Regions from separate parts of the Homo sapiens genome. Here region 2 is linked to region 1. Evidence: promoter capture Hi-C in 16 types of primary human blood cells and fetal thymus (Javierre and others, 2016). All regions are on one chromosome and are shown on one strand. The core of a region is centred on a gene start or on the middle of the fragment in contact, and the rest is flanking DNA. Distances in the headings are between cores, read along the strand shown. Region 1 holds the start of MRPL19 (mitochondrial ribosomal protein L19). Region 2 overlaps TPRKB (TP53RK binding protein).

Evidence for each region. The method cuts DNA at HindIII sites, captures the fragments that hold promoters and counts their contacts. A CHiCAGO score of 5 or more calls a contact.
Region 2: a contact is called between a fragment that was not itself captured here and the fragment with the promoter of MRPL19 in region 1, in 1 of 17 cell types (activated CD4 T cells). The highest score is 5.2, in activated CD4 T cells.

The regions. Positions count from the first base shown.
Region 1 is chr2:75,642,771-75,649,747 of GRCh38, reverse strand. It overlaps MRPL19 (mitochondrial ribosomal protein L19), which reads right to left and starts at 2,965. Exons shown (of 6, transcript NM_014763.4): 1 at 2,838-2,965; 2 at 2,529-2,646. The coding sequence starts at 2,940. RefSeq lists enhancers at 2,736-3,035, 2,871-3,165. The HindIII fragment of the contact is 2,636 bases long and covers 518-3,153 here.
Region 2 is chr2:73,729,739-73,736,924 of GRCh38, reverse strand. TPRKB (TP53RK binding protein) reads left to right here. Exons shown (of 5, transcript NM_016058.5): 2 at 2,334-2,496; 3 at 4,640-4,762; 4 at 6,189-6,365; 5 at 6,896-7,052. The coding sequence starts at 2,356. The coding sequence ends at 6,982. Among named protein-coding and RNA genes, the nearest start is that of TPRKB, 4.0 kb to the left of the region's middle. The HindIII fragment of the contact is 4,504 bases long and covers 1,322-5,825 here.

The DNA of each region.
Region 1 (6,977 bases), core at 1,716-4,215:
TGAGTAGGGAGGGGCCCAGGAGTAGGAGTTGCAGAGCCAAGATCATGCCACTGCACTCCAGCCTGGATGACAAAGCAAGGCTCTGTCTCAAAAAAATGGAACAGCAAGGCATTTCATCCCTCAATAATTTAGAAGGCTTATGCTAAGAATAAGGACTTGCTCCTATATTATCACGATACCCTTCTGACACCTATAAAAGTCAGCATTAATTTGATAACATAATCTAATACAAAGGTATCCAATCATCTGGCTTCCCTGGGACACACTGGAGGAATTATCTTGAGCCACACATAAAAGACACCAACAATAGCTGGTAAGCTTAAAAAAAAAAGGCACAAAAAAAATCTCATATGTTTTAAGAAAGTTTACAGATTTGTGTTGGGCCACATTTAAAGCTGTCCTGGGCTGTGGGTTGGACAAGCTTGGTCTAATACAGAGTTCATACTCAAATGTATGTCATTATCCTGGGAAGGTATTTTACATCTATTCGTTGCCCAATTCAAAATACAATCAAGCTTCACACATATTTGGTCATTAGTCTCTCAGACTAGGACTTTTTTCCAACTTTGTATTTTTATAACATTAACTTTTTTGAACAGTCAAGGCCTACTATCTCATCTCTGGATTCTGGATTGTTTCCACATGCCTAGACTAAGGTTAAATAATTTTAGTAAGAATATTACAGGGAGATGATGTGAACAACTTATTCTGTCACATCAGGAGACACATAATATCAACTGGTACCAATACTGGTAAAGTTAGGTTTGACTGTTTGGCAAAGTTTCAGAAGGCCCCCCTTACATTTCTTTTTACTTTTCATATGCATGTATGTCTGGGCAACATATATTGTTTCGTATAATTTTGTTTTTGTTTTTTTCTGAGACAGAGTCTTGCTCTATCGCCCAGGCTGGAGTGCAGTGGCACGATCTCGGCTCACTGCAACCTCGGCATCCTGTGTTCAAGCAATTCTTCTGCCTCAGCCTCTCGAGTAACTGGGATTATAGGCACATGCCACCACACCTGGCTAATTTTTTTTTTTTTTTGTACTTTTAGTAGAAATGGGGGTTTCGCCATGTTGGCCAGGCTGGTCTCGAACTCCTGACTTCGTGATCTGCCCTCCTCGGCCTCCCAAAGTGCTGGGATAACAGTCGTGAGCCACCGCACCCGGCCTATAGTTTTAAAACTTCATAAAAATAGCATCCTACTACATTAATGATTCTAAAGGTTTTTTTTACACACAGATTTGTGAAAATCTTCCATGTTTAAAAGTGAGCTCTAATTCACTCATTTTTCACTGCTATACAATATTCTGTCATATGAATGTATTTGCCTGTTCACCTACTGATGGATATCTAGGCTGCCTCTAAATTTTGTTACAAAAAATACTGTTACATTCATTCTCGTGCTTGTCTCCTTGTACATACACGTTAGGAGTTTAAGTTGTGTGCTTTCTGAGTGAGAAGGTATACACAACTTAAACTTAGTAAATTCTGTCAAATTGTTCTCTAGAGCATATAATTTACATTCCTATTTAAGTGAATTCTATTAAATGCCACTGTTTAAAAGAGATATTCCATTTCTACCCTCAAAAGCAAAGTTTTATGAAGAAATATTTTCTGAATCTCTTAGTTCTCTAACTCCAAGTTTACTTCTATTTAAATCCGTGGAATATTTTAAATGTTAAAAAAAGAAAAGAAAAAAAAAAGCCAGGCGTGGTACCAGTAGTTCCAGCTACTCTGGAGCCTGAGGCGGGAGGATCACTTGAGCCCAGAAATTTGAGGCTGCAGTGAGCTAAAATCACCACTGCACTCCAGCCTGGGAGACTGAGAGAGACTCTGTCTAAAAAAAATTTAAAAAATAAAAAAATTAAAAATCCCAGAAGTAATCCAATCAATAATCTACAGCCCTTTCAAAAAGCCTATAATCATATCAGGTTTTTCCTCTGAAAACTGGCTTTTTAAAAAGGTTGCTACATAGCTCTCTTTTCAGACCTTAAGTCCTTTAAATTTACATGTACCTCCAAGATTACCACCATTCATATAAGTTTTTATTCACACTATTTTGATGAGTAAGTTTCAGACACAATTTAGTGGCCAGTTTTACTGTGCTTTGTCTGCCAAAACTTCCAACCTAAACCATAGCAAATTTTTTAAGTTGGCCAATCGATTCCTATCCAGGGTTAAGGGTCTTTTGAGAGAAAAGAAGAGCTCTTGGACGTAAACAGGTATAAACAGGATATACCTCAGAGAAAAACTCTGGTACAGGACAAATACCACAGAGAAAAGAGTTTAAAATATGGGGAACCCCTACTTGAAGTTCTGACTCAATAAAACTGCAAAGAAGTTCAATGCTGGCTTGGGGAGAAGTGAGAAAGAAAGAACAGTGTGGTGCGCTGGCTCTTGAATCCTACACACCTGCTCGTGCAGGGGGAGGTGCAGCCCCCACCTTAGAGCCGGGACCTCGAACGCGAACGCGCTCACGCGCGCACCGACCCCAGTTGCCGGCCTAGCGCCAGGGCAGTGCCTCACCTGCGTTCCGGTTCCACGGGGCGGTGCTTGTCCACGATGACCGGTTTCGGCGGCGGTTGGAACGCACCGGGCTCGGAAGGCCCAGTGCTCTGCTGCCGGACAGGCCCCGCGTGGACCCCTGCGGGAGCGGACGACGGAGGTCAGAACTCTCGTGCCAACCCTGAGATCCCGCAGAGCCCCGCAATCTCCCCCAACCCGGCGTCCCACGGGGGACCAACGCTGGGGTTGCCTCTGATCTCCAGGTTCGCCTCCCCCATCCTGACCCTGGGCCCCTAACGCGCCCCAGCTCGCAAGTCCGGCTCCACTTACTGCAGGCGATAGAGGCCGGCGGGGGGAGCAGAGTCCTGGCGGCTTGGAAACTCCGGCCTAGGCCCATTGCAGCCCAGTGCCCCGCTGCAATGCAGGCCGCCATGCCAGCTAGCTCACGTCAAGACTACAGCTCCCAGTAATCAGTGCGACGAGGTTGTTGCTGTCTGCCACCATATGGCGGCTGCTATGGGACAAAATGGATAAGTCTCTCCTCGCTCCTTTCCTGATGTCTTAGGAAAAGTGCACGTTTCTCTAGTTCCTCGTAATGCGCCAAGTTACACCCCTCCACAGGGGTGTTCTCCCAGCCTAGAAAGCTTTTTCCTCCCCCTATGAATCCACTCTATCTTCTCAGACAAGCTTTCGCTATGCGAAAATCCCATTGTAGGCCGTCTTTCCCACTGGGTGCCTTCGATTGGCAGCTCTGATCTCATTTGCAATTCTTTCTTGTGTAATTATTAGATTAGTATTTAAATCTGCCATTATACTATAATGAGGCAAGGGAAGGGATAAAGTCTTCTTTTTGCTCACCATGTTATCCCAGCACCTAGCACCTACCTGGGCCCTCACTAACATCTTTTGTTTTGTTGAGACAAGGTCTTCCTCTGTTACCCAGGCTGGAGTGCAGTGGCGCGATCATGGCTCTGCAGCCTCCAACTCCTGATGTCAGGAGATCCTCTCACCTCAGCCTCCCGAGTAGCCAAGACTACAGTCTCGCACCATCACGCCCAGCTAATTTTTCTAATTCTTTGCTGAATGCACAGAAAAGAGAATAGAATAGTTCCTGACAGAACTGCTGGCCCATAGTCCTTGAGACTACACAAAGCATTAACCCTTTGAGGAACCCAAATGAATTTGGGCTGGGCAACTGTGGGTATGGATAGGTGGGAGAAGTAAAGCTGGAAAAGGTAAATTGTAAGTCTTGTTAAGAAATTTGGAAAATGACTGGGCGTGGCCAGGCATGCCTGTAATCCCAGCACTGTGGGAGGCCGAGACAGGAGGGTCCCTTGAGCTCATGAGTTGGAAACCAGCCTGGGCAATATAGTGAGACCGTATCTCTAAGAAACAAACACACAGCCGGGCGCAGTGGCTCACGCCTTTAACCCCAGCATTTTGGGAGGCCGAGGCGGGCAGATCGCCTGAGGTCAGGAGTTTGAGACTAGCCTGGCCAACATAGTGAAACCCCGTTTCTACCAAAAATAAAAAAAATGATCCAGGTGTGGTGGCAGGCTCCTGTAATCCCAGCTACTTGGGAGGCTAAGGCAGGAGAATCGCTTGAACCTGGGAGACAGAGGTTGCAGTGAGCCGAGATCGCGCCATTGCAACAAGAGCGAAACTCCGTCTCAAAAAAACAGAAAAAGAAACACACACAAAAAAAGAAATTTGGAATTTGTTATTTCAGCAGTGGTTATATAAGGATTGAACACTTAGAGTAATGTGATAATTTAACTACATAATAGTCATTCCAGTTGCATTAATGTCCCAAAGCTACCTCAAATTCAGCCTATCCATACTGAGTTCATCTTTTTCAGCTCCAGACTTCCTTCCCAGTATTGGCTATCTCAAGGAATGGCTTCAGCATCCACTCTCTTGCCTAAGCCAAAAATCTCAGTGCCATTCTTGATTCCTCCCTGTCTCCTCCTGGATGAAGTTCCAAAAACTATGCCTGACACCGTCAAATATCTCAGGAATCCATATACTTTCTCATCCTCCCATCCATATTTCCAATCTAGGTCAACATATTTTCTCTCTTCAGGATCCCTGGAGATCCCTGCAACAGCCTTCTCATTAGTCTTCTTGCCTCTGGTTACCTCCAGTCCTTCACGCAGCAACCAAAAAAAGATGGCTCAGAAATGCATACCCTGTTCTTTCCTTTCCCCAGTTTAAAGCCTTACTGTTTACTTTTGACAGAAGTCAAATGCTCATAAAAGCAACCAACCTCTGCAGCTTGGCCTCTATACTCTGACTTGCCATCCTGAAGAACATGAGCTGTTACATCAGCCTGAGGAACAGGGCCATGTTTTGAGCACAGAATTCAAGATGCTGTGAAGAAAGACAGGGCCTTCTATTTTAACTCTAGCTTCTTTGATTAGAACAAGAATTTATTCTATAAATGACAAGGAATCTCACAACCAAAATTTCAGATGAGCAATATTTTGGCTCTTCTACCTACCCGAAAAAGTAGACTTCAAGCCCTTAAGAGTAAAAGGGAGGAGAGGCAAAGATAATCATGACTGGCAGTGGTGAAGATTTTTCTGTATTAACCATGCCCAGAACACGTGGCCTTCACTCTTGCTGGGATTGGTCCTAAAGGTAGGGGCAGAGAAATAAAAGACAGACCTTCACAGGAGGACAGCAGGATTTACTAGACATTGCCAAGCCACTCCTGCTGCCCTCTCCTCTTCCACAGATGAAGGAATAGTTGTGTAGAGTTTTACAAAATTGGAAGAATGAACCTAAAGAATCTTATCTAATTTTCTCCCGTATTCTTGCTCATCCAACATATATCAGGCCGTTTTGACCTTATCTTAATTTGGAGAACAAGCTGGAGTTTAAATTATTCCAACTTAAGTTGTTATTAAACAACTTCATAGAGCAAAATCAAAGAGCACAGAGCTGGCTCAACCATTTTATGAGCTGATCACAGGAATAGAACTTTAATTATTTACTTCTGTGTTTTACACCCTTGGAAAGGAGATCATGAACATCATTACATAATGTTCAGCCAAGGGAAGAAAGTATTCCAGGCAAACTGGCTGCTTCAGGTTATTGTGACATCAGGATCCTTGTCGGTTTTGCTTGTTATTACATCCTCTATATTTAGTAGAGTATCTGGCACCCAATAAATATTTCTAAGTAAAATTAGATAGATCATTCTGATTGTACTTTAGAAAATGGCTGGGAAGCAGGAAATTATTGAAATATTCCAAAAGAGAGATGGTGCTAACCTGGAACAGAAAAAAAAAAAATGGTTCTTAAAGTGTGAGCCCTTGACTAGCAACATCAGCACAACCAGGGAACGTGTTAAAATTACAAATTCTCAGGTCCCGCCCCCAGACTTACTGAATTTAAAACTCTGGGCACAGAACCCAGTGATCTGTGCTTTAGCAAATCCTCCGGTGATTCTGATAGTTGTTCCAATTTGGGAACAATTGAGGTAGAGGCAATAGAGATAGAAAGTGGTATTTTTTTTTCTGTCTCTCCATCTATTTGTGAGGTAGAGTCAGTAAAAAAAATTTCTGAAATGTACTAACTGGAGTCTTTGAGAGAGGTTCCCATCTCTGCCTTTTCTTCTTCATGGGTAATAGGATAGAGGTATGCCTACCTCATTGGGTTGGTATAAGGATTAAATTGTGATAATGCATAAAGTTTGCAGATAAATGTATAGATCATAATAAAATTCTTTTTTTCCAACTTTACTGAGACATGATTGAAAGATAAAAATTTGTATATATTTAAGGTGTACAACATGATGATTTGATATATGTATGCAATGTGAAATGATTATCACAGTTTAGCTAATTAACATATCCTTCACCTAATTAAAAAAAAAAGCTTTTTGTAAAACTTATTTTAAAGATGCCAGCAAGAGGAAACTATAATCTGATTCATGTATTAACACATCCAAAAAAAGAATCTCCTATTCCTAGAAAACCGTAAAGATGCTACCAAAAGACGCCTAGACCTGATAAACAACTTCAGTAAAGTTTCAGGATACAAAATTAATATGCAAAAATCAGTAGTATGTCTATTCACCAACAGTGTTCAAGCTGAGAACCAAATCAAGAATGCAGTCCCATTTACAATAGCCACCAAAAACATAAAATACCTAGGAATACACCTAATCAAGGAGATGAAATCTCTACAACAAGAACTACAAAACACTGCTGAAATAAATTATAGATGACACAAACAAATGGAAAAACATCCCATGCTCATGGATTGGAAGAATCAATGTCACTAAAATGTCCATATTGCTCAAAGCAATTTACATATTCAACGACATTCCTATTAAATTACTATCATTTTTCACAGAACTAGAAAAAAAAACAATTCTAAAATTCATGTGGAACCAAAAAGAGTCCAAATAGCCAAAGCAATCCTAAGCAAAAAGAGTAAAGCAGGAGGAATGACATGATCTGA
Region 2 (7,186 bases), core at 2,324-4,823, 1.9 Mb after region 1:
CAGAATCGGGGAGAAAGGTTGGTGACTTGAGCTTAGAGAAGGCCATTGCGGCGGTAGCAGAAGAGGAGAGGCAGGGACCAGATCGTAGAGTGTGGAACACCGTGACACAAAGTTGGGGCTTTATCATAAGAGCAGCAGAATGACAAGATCTGATGTACATTTTGAAAGGATCACTGTAACTGCTGGTGACGACTGGATTATAGGAGGGCAGGAATTGTGAGAAACCACTCAGAAGGCTACTGCTGTAGATGAGCGATGTGACCTAGCGTATGGGAGAGAAGTGGACGAATCAAAAGTATATTTAGCAGGTGAAAATTCAGGACTTTACGGATTAGATATAGGATTTGAGTGACAGGTTGGGTCTCAACGATGATTCCAAGTTTCTGACCTGAGTGAGTAAATTACGCTAAACAAGAACAAACTATTTTGAAGTTTTCTAAGGGTTCTTCCCCCCACTCAGTGTTAAAAAGCACGTTTTTTTCCTTTCTTATTATGTGTACTCATGTTTTGTGTGCTTACTGTAGAAAATTCAGAACATACATAACAAAATATTTTCTTTTATATAAAGGACAATAAAAATCACCTCATAACCTCACTACCCAAGATGGTCATATTTTAGTGTTTCTTTCATGTATTTTAAAAAAATATGTGTATCTTTTTATATAATTGGGATCCTACTGATTATGTCTTTCTGTATCCATTTTTTCCACCTTAGCATGACTAATGATTGAACTGTGTGCCAGGATATCGTTCACAAATATATTTTTTTCTGTTTGTAACAGAAAAAGTCAAATTAATTCTAAATAAGAGATAACATTAACTTTTTGGTGTATTTTCTTTTTAATATTTGTTTAAAAGCCTTTTAAAAAACCCACATTTTGGCCAGTTTGTGTTTTGTTTTCCATTCAGATGTTTTTACTTACTTAATGTTATTTATTGCCGTTTTTACACACCGTCAAGACCACATGTTTTAATGGTTGTTAAATAACAACTAATCCCATCATTAGCTAGATAGGTTATTTGCAACTTTTTACTGTTAAAATAATGAGAGGAACATCTTATATAATTATTGGATTCCTAATGACTTCCATCAGAAAGAGTTCTAGAAATATAATCTGCCAGGTAAAAGGATAAAATGAGTCTCAAATTGCCCCACCAAAATATTTTATTAAGAATTTGATAGAAATTGTTTTAAAGAAATTTTTGCAATACATAGTTTTTCCATTCAAAGATATGGTCATGTCTTTCTGGTTATTCAAGTTGTCTTTTATGTTTCTTTTATGTCTTTATATATAATAACCTATCCTTTTCTTGTTAAGCTTATGTCCAAGAAAGGAGCGACATTGATTATTTAATAATTGTACCCTCTCTGCTTAATTTCCATGCGTGGAATGAATATCTTTGGGTCAAGTGGGATACTTTATCCTTTTTTTTTATTTTTATACTTTAAGTTCTAGGGTACATGTGCACAACGTGCAGGTTTGTTACATCTGTATACATGTGCCATGTTTGTATGCTGCACCCATTAACTCATCGTTTACATTAGGTATATCTCCTAATGCTATCCCTTCCCCCTATTCTTTTTTTTTTTTGAGACGGAGTTTCACTCTTGTTGCCCAGGCTGGGGTGCAATGGTATGATCTCGGCTCACTGCAACCTCTGCCTCCCAGGTTCAAGCGATTCTTCTGCCTCAGCCTCCTGAGTAGCTGGGATTACAGGCATGCGCCACCATGCCTGGCTAATTTTTTTGGCATTTTTAGTAGAGACGGGGTTTCTCCATGTTGGTCAGGCTGGTCTCGAACTCCCAACCTCAGGTGATCTGCTCGCCTCGGCCTCCCAGAGTGCTGAGATTACAGGCATGAGCCACTGCACCCAGCCTACTTTATTCTTTAAAATTATTTTCTTCCTTAATATTTATGTCTAGGCCTTCCTAAAATATAAATAAAATGATGAGATCAGGAAGTTAAAAAGACTAAGATAGAGTAAGACTTCATTAATACCGTAAGCAACCTCTGGTTTAAAAAATTCCTGACATTCTGCTCCTACTTGTCTGCTGGGGAAGCAGCCCTTCAACCATGCACCTGAGCCTGCCTCATCTGAACAAACAGCAACCAGCTGGGCCCCTTGGCGTTTCCCTGGGGATGACAACAGAACAACTCAGAAGGGTTAGGAAGACAACATCTCATGAGGATGCCAAATGGGCTTTGGCGATGGATTTTTCTAGTTTAACACTTTTATCAAGTTACTTTCAAAGTTTTTGAATATTTATTAAGAAATGAGTTCTGATGTTAACTTTTAAATGAAATCTTTTGGTCTTTTCATTTTGTGTGCAGTAGAATCCTGCTTATCTGTGAAATGCAGTTAACACATCAGCTGGACCTATTTCCCGAATGCAGGGTAACCCTTCTGTTATTTAAAGATGTAAAAAATGCGGGAGACTTGAGAAGAAAGGCCATGGAAGGCACCATCGATGGATCACTGATAAATCCTACAGTGGTAAATATAAATTTTAAGAATGAATGAGCCTGCTGGGTGCGGTGGCTCACGCCTGTAATGCCAGCACTTTAGGAGGCCGAGGCGGGTGGATCATCTGAGGTCAGGAGTTGAAGACCAGCCTGGCCAACATGGTGAAACCCTGTCTCAACTAAAAATACAAAAATTAGCTGGGCGTGGTGGCGGGCGCCTATAATCCCAGCTACTCGGGAGGCTGAGGCAGGAAAATCATTTGAACCCTGGAGGCAGAGGTTGCAGTGAGCCAAGATTGCGCCATTGCACTCCAGCCTGGGCGACGAGCAAAACTCTGTCTGGAAAAAAAAAATGGCCAGGCATGGTAGCTCACGCCTGTAATCCCAGCCCTTTGGGAGGCCGAGGCAGGCAGATCATGAGGTCAGGAGTTTGAGACCAGCCTGGCCAATATGGTGAAACCCTGTCTCTACTAAAAATACAAAAATTAGCTGAGCATGGTGGTGGGCACCTGTACTCAGGAGACTGAGGCAGGAGAATCGCTTGAGCCTGGGAGGCAGAGGTTGCAGTGAGCCGAGATTGTGCCACTGCACTCCAGCCTGGGCAACAGACCAAGAATCCGCCTCAAAAAAAAAAAAAAAAAAAAAGAATGAATGAGCCATACAGGGCATTTAAGTATACATTAATATTTGTGATGTTATAGGGTAGCCTAAAAATCTGTCACGGTTAGGGAAAAAATTCTTGTCCAAGTCAGATGCAGCCAACTTTGACTATAACAGTGAATAGAGGCAGAAGTGCCAGGTCCTGCCCTAGGAAATAGGAAAGGTTGTGGTCTGGGTCTAATATGGGAAATGCCTGGATCTCCAGCTTCTCATCTTTAAAATGGGGGTTCCTAACAAGACAGTCTGTAGAGGAGGAATAGTGTAGTGGTTAAGAGTACACACAGAGGCCAAGGTGGGTGGATTGCTTGAGGCCCGGAGTTTGAGACCAGCCTGGCCTACATAGTGAAACCGTGTCTCTACTAAAAATACAAAAAGTAGCTGGGTGTGGTGGTGTGTGCTGGTAGTCCCAGCTACTCGGGAGGCTGAGGCACAAGAATCATTTGAACCTGGGAGGCGGAGGTTACAGTGAATTGAGATTGAGCCACTGCATTCCAGCCTGGGCAATGGAGCGAGAGACTCTGTCTGTCTCCAAAAAAAAAAAAAAACAAAAAAACAGGGCACACGCAGTGCGATCATGTTACCGGGAATTAATCCCAGACCTACTACTTAGGCCTTTGAACAAGACATAACCAACCTTTATATAGTGCTTACTGCATTCCTAGCATTGTTCCAAGTGCTTTACGTATACTAACTTGCTTAATCTTCACAACAGCCTATGGAGTGAATACTGTTTCATCGGTCTCTAACAAATAAAATGCTAATGAACTTGCATAAGTTTCCTAGGTGATAGGTGACAGAGATGGGATTCAAACCCAGACATTCTTTGCCTCAATTTCCTCATCAATTACATACTACTACTACTGCTACTACTACTAATAATAGTGTCAATTTCATAGGGTAGTTTTGAGGATTAAAGAAAATATTACAAGTAAAATGTTTGCAATATGATCATGCCCATAATATTAGCCCTCAATTAATGTTATTTAAAAAAATTTTACTATTTGCATAAGTTCCTTGCAGCTTTAAAATTCTGTGATTTCCTGACTACCCAGGCCCTTGGGATAATAGTTGTTTTTTGTTTTTTTTTTTTTTGAGACAGTTTCACTCTTGTTGCCCAGGCTGGAGTGCAATGGCGCGATCTTGGCTCACGGCAACCTCTGCCTCCCGGGTTCAAGCAATTGTCCTGCCTCAGCCTCCTGAGTTGCTGGGATTACAGGTGCGTGCCACCACGCCTGACTAATTTTTGTATTTTTAGTAGAGAGGGTTTCGCCGTGTTGGCCAGGCTGGTCTTGAACCCTGACGTCAGGTGATCTACCCACCTTGGCCTCCCAAAGTGCTAGGATTACAGGTGTGAGCCACCGTGCCCAGCCGGGATAATAGTTTTGAAAATACAGACCGTAAGAATTGTGATGAAGTAAAACAGCTTGACACTGGAGTTAACCATGAGTTACCATGTGTTTTCAGGCACTGCAGATTCTCCATGTGTAATTAATTCTTTTTCCTTGCTTTGGTAGATTGTTGATCCATTTCAGATACTTGTGGCAGCAAACAAAGCAGTTCACCTCTACAAACTGGGAAAAATGAAGACAAGAACTCTATCTACTGAAATTATTTTCAACCTTTCCCCAAATAACAATGTAATGTGCACTTTCCTATTTCTGTTGACCGTGTCATAATAACATATGTGTTCCTCAGTGTTGGGTTGGAGGCTAAATTCCTGCAAGCCAGTGGTTAGTAATAAACCCAAATAATAGTGAAGAGAGCTCTGGACAGAGAGTTGAGGTTTAACCCTGCCTCTTACTAAGACAGTTTACATATGAGTAAACAAAAATTTAGCTAAATTAAGCGAGGTTAATTTTATCTGTTCTTACCATATAGGGTCAGGAAGACCCCTCAAGTATTTTTGCTTGAGAAGCTGACAGAAATCTAAATGATAAAACATTAGGCGTGGATATTTTGTGTGCTAGCCTGCATATCATTCTCTCTTCCCGTAAACTCCTTGAGGGTGGGATCCATGTCTTTTTCATATACCAGGAACTTGCTTGTACCTATAACAGTCCTTAACACAGCCTCACTCACACACCCAGTACATAGGTAGAGTTTGTGGTTTGAAATACTTATAGTAATGCTTTTTCAATGAAAGTTATCAAGCTAAAGACATCACACATGTAGCACATGAAAAAAATGACTGCAATTTTGCTGATGAAGTTTTAGTATTACTGCTGCTGTTAATAACAACCAGGTACTAATGTCATCTACAGGAAACCTGTAGCATAGGTTAAAATACAGATGATTGACAAGTTTATAAAATGCAGTTATCTCAGCATGGTAATAGAGATTCCCAGTACCTGGAATAAAATTTACTAATTATGGTTTCCTTGAGATCATTAGACATAATTCAGAAAACTCTTGAATTCAGTAAACATCTGTTGAACTTTTTCCCCGTTCCATTTACAGTTCTAGGGGCAGAAGAGGCAAATATGTTCCTGAGGAGAGGCAGATAAACAAGACAAGTTAAAATGCCCTAAGATAAATGATATAATGGGAAAATGAATTCAAATCTAGGGGTACAGCAATGAAGCCATTCATTTTGGAGGGAGGAGGGTGTGGTGGGGAGTGGCATCAGAACTGTGGACCCTGAAGCATGTGTTCAGCAGCCAAGCCATGAGGAGAAGGGACATGCGAGCAGAGGACAAAGCTTGAGCACAGGCAGAAGGGCATGAAATGTGACTGGATCCCCAGGCAGGCTGGACTGGCCAGAAGGCAGAAGCGCCTGGCTGGAGGGCCACTTGGCACCAGAGGGAGGAGGTGTTTTTGTGCAGCGCCAAGAGGCTGGGCTTGATTCCATAGGAACAAGGCGTACCTTTAAGCAGGGAGTGCTTTTGAGGAAGTGCCAATGGATGTTGGAAAGGAATCATTAAAGTGAAAAAGTAGGCAGTGAGAACTGTTAGGACATGAAAAATAAGAGCCTGACCAAGGAAGAAGGCAGATCAGGAAATGTTTCAGACGTAGGAAACAATGGTTAATGATCTTGTGTTTTTTTTTTCATTTTTTTTCTCTTAGATTTCAGAGGCTTTGAAAAAATTTGGTATCTCAGCAAATGACACTTCAATTCTAATTGTTTACATTGAAGAGGGAGAAAAACAAATAAATCAAGAATACCTAATATCTCAAGTAGAAGGTCATCAGGTTTCTCTGAAAAATCTTCCTGAAATAATGAATATTACAGAAGTCAAAAAGGTTTGCCAGTCCATATTTTTAGAAAGAGTGTGATAGATGAGCAATAATGCTGATGCCGTTTGCCTATTGATCACCAGAGCTCCTTGTTTTTTGAACTTTTGAGAAAGTTAATCTAATTTTAAAAATTACTTAAAAATTACAGATACAAAGAACTGGGAGGTGTGATGGTTTATGTAAAATATAATTACAAACTCAGCTGACATAACCATTCTCCACATTAAGAAAGAGAATACCTTTAAATATCAAACTTACATAGTATATTTAAAATGTAAAATAAATTTAGTATGCTTTTAAAATGGATAGAAATTTGGTTTTTATGTTCTTGAGAGTTACTCCCATAGCAGCAATTTAAAGGGGATACAAGTAATGAATTGCCCTCTACTTTGAATATTTTAATCACATTTGTTGTTTGTTATACCATGAACCCAATAATTGAATGAGGAATAATTTCACTTACACATGTTTGTATAATGACAATTAGTAGTGAATGACGATATCAGCAAGTCATAATTTGTCTTTCATTTTTACAGATATATAAACTCTCTTCACAAGAAGAAAGTATTGGGACATTATTGGATGCTATCATTTGTAGAATGTCAACAAAAGATGTTTTATGAAATGTCAGAAATATTAACAAAAATTCTCAGCATTAAAGAAAACATTGATTTTCCTTTCCTGACTATAAAACTAATTGTGCATTATAGAAAAGTTTAAATCACAGAATGGTATTAAAAAAAAAAAAAAAAGGCCAGGCACGGTGGCTCACGCCTGAAATCCCAGCAATTTGGGAGGCCAAGGCAGGTGGATCACCTGAGGTCAGG